Linked DNA regions of Homo sapiens: region 1 is linked to region 2. The links are contacts of gene promoters, found by promoter capture Hi-C in blood cells and fetal thymus (Javierre and others, 2016). All regions are on one chromosome and are shown on one strand. The core of a region is centred on a gene start or on the middle of the fragment in contact, and the rest is flanking DNA. Distances in the headings are between cores, read along the strand shown.

What was found. The method cuts DNA at HindIII sites, captures the fragments that hold promoters and counts their contacts. A CHiCAGO score of 5 or more calls a contact.
Region 1: a fragment that was not itself captured here is called in contact with the fragment with the promoter of UBA2 in region 2 in 1 of 17 cell types (naive CD4 T cells); the score reaches 5.1 in naive CD4 T cells.

The regions. Positions count from the first base shown.
Region 1 is chr19:34,192,225-34,195,005 of GRCh38, forward strand. LSM14A (LSM14A mRNA processing body assembly factor) reads left to right here. Exons shown (of 10, transcript NM_015578.4): 2 at 2,254-2,417. Among named protein-coding and RNA genes, the nearest start is that of LSM14A, 21 kb to the left of the region's middle. The HindIII fragment of the contact is 3,862 bases long and covers 1-2,781 here.
Region 2 is chr19:34,426,767-34,429,781 of GRCh38, forward strand. UBA2 (ubiquitin like modifier activating enzyme 2) reads left to right here and starts at 1,615. Exons shown (of 17, transcript NM_005499.3): 1 at 1,615-1,804. The coding sequence starts at 1,667. It overlaps LOC124904695 (a long non-coding RNA gene), which reads right to left and starts at 1,598. Exons shown (of 2, transcript XR_007067232.1): 1 at 1,356-1,598. RefSeq lists silencers at 1,503-1,742, 1,773-1,882, 1,953-2,112. The HindIII fragment of the contact is 4,339 bases long and covers 501-3,015 here.

The DNA of each region.
Region 1 (2,781 bases), core at 152-2,651, 230 kb before region 2:
CACTGTCTTTCCTGGAAGTCTCATAAGTACTAGAAAGAACTTTTAGAATAAGAGTGTAGGACATTATTTACACTGAAATAACATTCTTTTTGTTGTTTTTTTTTTTTTTTTTTTTTTTGGAGTCAGATTGTCATTCTGTCACCCAGGCTGGAGTGCAGGAGCGCCATCTTGGCTCACTGCAACTTCTGCCTCTTGAGTTCAGCCAATCCTCCCGCCTCAGCCACCTGAGCAGCTAGGACTACAGGTGCATGCCAACATGCCCAGCTAATGATTTTTTGTATTTTTAGTAGAGATGGGGTTTCACCATTTTGTTGAGGCCGGTGTCAAACTCCTGACCTCAAGTGATCTGCCCACCTTGGCCTCCCAAAGTGCTGGGATTGCAGGCATGAGGCGCTGCATCAGTTCTGCAAAAAAAAAAAAAAAAAAAAAAAAAAAAAAAAAAAGCGTATGCATTAAAAATACTAAGGGGGCCAGGCGCGGTAGCTCACGCCTGTGATGCCAGCACTTTGGGAAGCCGAAGCGGATGGATCACTTGAGGTCAGGAGTTCTAGACCAGTCTGGCCAACATAGTGAAACCCCATCTCCGCTAAAAAAAAATACAAAAATTAGCTGCGCATGGTGGCACACGCCTGTAATCCCAGCTGCTCAGGAGGCTGAGGCAGGAGAGTCGCTTGAACCCAAGAGGCAGAGGTTACAGTGAGCCAAGATTGCGTCACTGCACTCCAGCTGGGGCAACAGAATGAAACTCCATCTCAAAAAAAAAGAAAAAAAATAGAAATGTTAAGGGGTTTACTTCCTTTAGGGTACTCTTTAAATGAAATATGATGTTTCATATTCTCTATTTGGAACTTCTGTATGGATGCAGACATTTTCAGAAATCTCCCAGGACAATGAACCTGAAACTTATGTATTTATAAGAAACTTGGGGATTTGGTTATTTTATTTACTTATTTTGAAATAGGGTCTTGCTGTGTCACCCAGGCTGCAGTGCAGCCACGCTTCAGTACAGCCTCAATCTCCCAGGCTCAAGCGATCCTCATACCTCAGCCTCCTTATAGCTGGGACTACAGGCATGCACTACCACACCTGGCTAATTTTTAAAAATGTTTATTTTTTTGTAGAGACAGAACATCACTGTGTTGCTAGGGCTGGTCTCAAACTCCTGGGCTCAAGCAGTCCTCCCACCTTGGCCTCCCATAGTGCTGGGATTACAGGCATGAGCCACTGTGCCTAGCCAGAAATTGGCTTAAAATGCAGATTTTTGGACCCTGTCCCCAGCAAAAAGATTCGGTAGAAATCTTTATTCGTAGCCAGTTTACTGTGTTGCAGGTGGTCCCCAGTTTAACTTTGAGTAATGCTGTCTTCATTGTTAAAATAATCAGATTTAATTATATGGTAGATATTTTAGGTAACTAGGGTATTTCAAGCTGTCCCATGGGGCTGAGTAGCTGGCAGCTGCTTGACTTGGCTTCTAGAGGACTTACTGCTCAGCAAGGTAAATGTTATTAATACCTTCATTGCTCTCTGTGTCCCAAAGGTCAATACCCAAACTTTGAGATTTTGTAGACTGGAGGAATCTTTGTCTCCCACTCCTTCCCCAAGAAAGACATGGGTTGCTAATTTTTATTTTGTCGAATGAGGACATTAAAAATAAGTTAACCGTGAGCCAGGCACAGTGGCTTAGGCCTTTCATCCCAGCACATTGAGAGGCTAAAGCAGGAAGATCACTTGAGGCCAGGAGTTCAAGACCAGCCTGTGCAAAATAGCAAGACCTCATCTCTACTAAAAAATAAAAAAAGTTAGCTGGGCTTAGTGGCACATGCCTGTGGTCCCAGCTACGTGGGAGGTTGAGATAGAAGGATCGCCTGAGCCCGGGAAGCTGAGGCTGCAGGAAGCCATGACCACACCACTGCACTCCAGCCTAGGGGACAGAGACCCAGTCTCATCAATAAATAAATAATGAAAGGACATTTTAACACCCCACTACAACCACTAAAGATACAAATAAATAAAAATATAAGAGGAACACAACCTCATAATACAGATAGTCTTTTATATTGCATATATTTAACTTCGGGCAAAAGCCACTCTATTTTCCTCTTTAAAAAAACTTTTTTAGCTATAGATTAATGAATACTTTCTCAGACATTTCAGAACTACTGCTTAGTACTTGAAATACAACATTTAGAATCTGGGGTACTACCTGAATGTGATGAGTAGTCACACATCTCATATCCTTTGTTTTCTTGCCAGTTCGATCCTTTGGTACAGAAGACAGACCGACAGATCGTCCAATACCACCTCGAGATGAAGTCTTTGAATACATTATATTCCGTGGGAGTGACATTAAAGACCTTACTGTTTGTGAGCCACCAAAACCACAGTGTTCTTTGCCTCAAGACCCAGCTATTGTTCAGGTAACTGATGGTAAATTTGTCTTGGAGTACAGGTAAACTCCGCACAGGGTTAGCCTTGGCTTTTTTCTCTCTAGTTGAATGTTCATGTAGCTTATCATTTCCAAGTTACTGGGATACCTGAAATTACTGGATAATGTTCTCATCTAGGTTTTTCTCTTTGTATCATAAATTAGAACTAAGGTAAGAAACAGCTGAGGAATTTATTATGAAATATTTTCTAATTTCAACAACAATTACCATAGCTAACATTGAAGGCTACTCTGTAGAAGTGCTGTGCATATAAGATACCCTCTGAGGTTGGTACTATAATTATTCTCACTTTTAACAAGTGAGGAAGTTCAGATGGAGCCACAATTTGAACAGA
Region 2 (3,015 bases), core at 365-2,864:
CCAGCCATGTTCAGACATGCTCTGCCTACGTAGATGAGGATAATGAGGCCTAGGTGATCATGGGGTGGGCTTGTTTCTTGCATTTAACATTATATTTGGAGCATTTTCCCATTAATATTTTTCCCACAACATAATTTATAATTGCTCTATTTTTTAAATATACATCAAAAGCTTTATACAATTTTTAGCCACTTGTATTTTCCAATTTTTATTCCCATGATGGCCATCCCTGTAACTAAATTTATATATATTTTAAATCAATGATAACTGCTACAGGACAGTTTCCTAGAATTGGAATGAATGAGTCAAAAGTTGTGCACAATTTTAGGGTTTTTTTTTCTTTTTTTTCGAGACAGGGTCTTGCTCTGTCTCTCAGGCTGGAGTGCAGTGGTAAGGGCATAGCTCACTGCAGCCTCGACCTCTCAGGCTTAAGTGATCCTCCTGCCTCAGCCTCCTGAGTAGCTGGGACTACAGGTGCAAGCCACCACGCCCTCTAGAGAAGCTTTGCTTTGGAATCTTTACCTGGAGTGTGTTGGAGTGCTTGTTTCCCAATCCCTTGATAAGTGTTACTTATTTTTTCTTTCTACCAGTTTAGTAGGTGAAAAACTTTTTTTTTTTTTTGAGACAGAGTCTCGCTGTATTGCTCAGGCTGGAGTGCAGTGGTGCAACCTCCGCCTCCTGGGTTCAAGCAATTCTCCTGCCTCAGCCTCCTGAGTAGCTGGGGCTACAGGCTTGTGCCACCACCCCCAGCTGTTTCGGTGTTTTTTTTTGTTTGTTTGTTTGTTTGTTTTTTTGAGACGGAGTCTGTTGCCCAGGCTGGAGTGCAGTGGCGCGATCTCGGCTCACTGCAACCTCTGCCTCCTGGGTTCAAACGATTCTCCTGCCTCAGCCTCCCGAGTAGCTGGGATTACAGGCGCACGCCACCACGCCCGGCTAATTTTTGTATTTTTAGTAGAGATGGGGGTTTCACCATGTTAGTCAGGCTGGTTTCAGAACTCCTGACCTCGTGATCCACCCGCCTCGGCCTCCCAAAGTGCTGGGATTACAGGCGTAAGCCACCGCGCCCGGCAGGTGAAAATCTTACCATTTTGCATGGTTTACATTTTTTTCTTTTTTGAGACGGAGTCTTGCTCTGTTACCCAGCCTGGAGTGAAGTGGTGCGATCTTGGTTCACTGCAACCTCCACCTCCAGGGTTCAAGCGATTCTTTTATGGTTTACATTTTAATACGCTTATTGATCATATTGTCCAATTTTTTGTGAGTTTCCTGTTCACATCCTTTGCCTATATTTTTTTGGGGGTGACACTTGTTAATTTGTAAGAGCTCTTTACGTATAGGGACATCAGTTTTCTAACCTGTAAGGAAGTCTTGGCTGGGAGTTGAAACCCCAGGCTAGAAGGCGACCCTTAGACTTTTTAGGTCTGATGGCGGGCCTATGCTGGTGTGGGAATAACACCGCCGGTCTCAGCTGGAGGTCGCCAGCCCTTTGCAAGAGCCTGCCGGTCCCCGCGGGCTGCAGCACACCCCGGCGCGATGTGCCCTGCCTGTGTCTGCCGGAGGCTGTAGTGCGCAGGAGCGGAAACCAGGCCGCCCTTCCCCCACCCGCTTCCGGCCGCGGCTCGGTTCTCCCGCCTCCGCCTCCGCCGCGGCTCGTGGTTGTCCCGCCATGGCACTGTCGCGGGGGCTGCCCCGGGAGCTGGCTGAGGCGGTGGCCGGGGGCCGGGTGCTGGTGGTGGGGGCGGGCGGCATCGGCTGCGAGCTCCTCAAGAATCTCGTGCTCACCGGTTTCTCCCACATCGACCTGGTGAGGGCCGGGCGCGCGCGCGTGAATGGCGGGCTGTGGTGCGGGGGCTGGGATTCGGGGGTTCCGGGGCTCCAGGGGCTCTGAGGCTCAGGGCCCGGAGCCCGGGACCGGAGTTGCGGAGCGGGGGCAGGCTGAGAGGCTCGGGTTGTGCCCCCCCCGCGGGAGGAGACTGTTCTTTGGGCACGGGGCGGGCCTCCGCTCGCTGGGCCGGCTCCGGACGCCGAGGAGGCCGCGGGCCCCCGCCTCCCCGGCAGCGCCAATGTGTGGCGCTTCGTGGGCGTGAAGCCGCCTCTTATCCTCCCTTCAAAACAAATTCCCGGCTGTTAGGAGATGCGGGAGAGGATTGAGTCCCTCGCGGATGTTGTGACTTTAATTTTGAGGTCCCTGTCGTAACTCCGAAGTAACGACGCGGGGCGGAGGATGGCAATGATAGCGACCAACGCGTCCCGAGCGCTGGTCACGAGCGGGTTTACACACGGAACGCGCACCATCTTCATACCACCCGAGGAGTGCAAACGCTATTTCCACCCTGCTTTATTTTTAACAGATGAGGAAAGGGAGACGCAATGGGGTTGAGTAACTTACCCTGGGTCACGGAGCGAGTGGCAGGGCTCCCGCAGGCTGCGTGACTGTCATTGCTCTCACAGTAGACGGTACACTCGCTTGTTTCATTAAAGACGTTAGGACTGTGCCTTTTGCATTGGTGTACGTTGACAAGCCAGTGCTATTTTGAATCGTTATTTCTACTAATGCAAACTTTTTAGAGATTGGAGATGTTACTGGCCCTTCGGTGTGAGTTTAAAGTGTCTTAAGGGCTAGTGGAAACATGGAATGAACAAAAAAGTACGGGTGGCCGACTGAGTCATTGTTTCTTTCCTTTATGTATTATATATTTAAGCAAAAATTAGATAAAACTTAAAACATGATACTTTTTTAACCATGTGTAAAAGTTTCCTTTCACAGTTCTCAGGTTAATAGTAAATGAAATTGTGTATGGATGAAGGCTTGAATTAAGGGAGGCAGCAAAAATTCAATAAACGTTTGCCATGTATCATTTAAGAAAAAGAACAGAACCTGGGCAACATAGAGAAACCCCGTCTCTACAAAAAAAGAAAATTAGCGGGGCGTGGTGGTGTGCGCCTGTGGTCCCAGCTACCCGGGAGGCTGTGTCAGGAGGATCGCTTGAGCCTGGGAGGTCGAGGCTGCAGTGA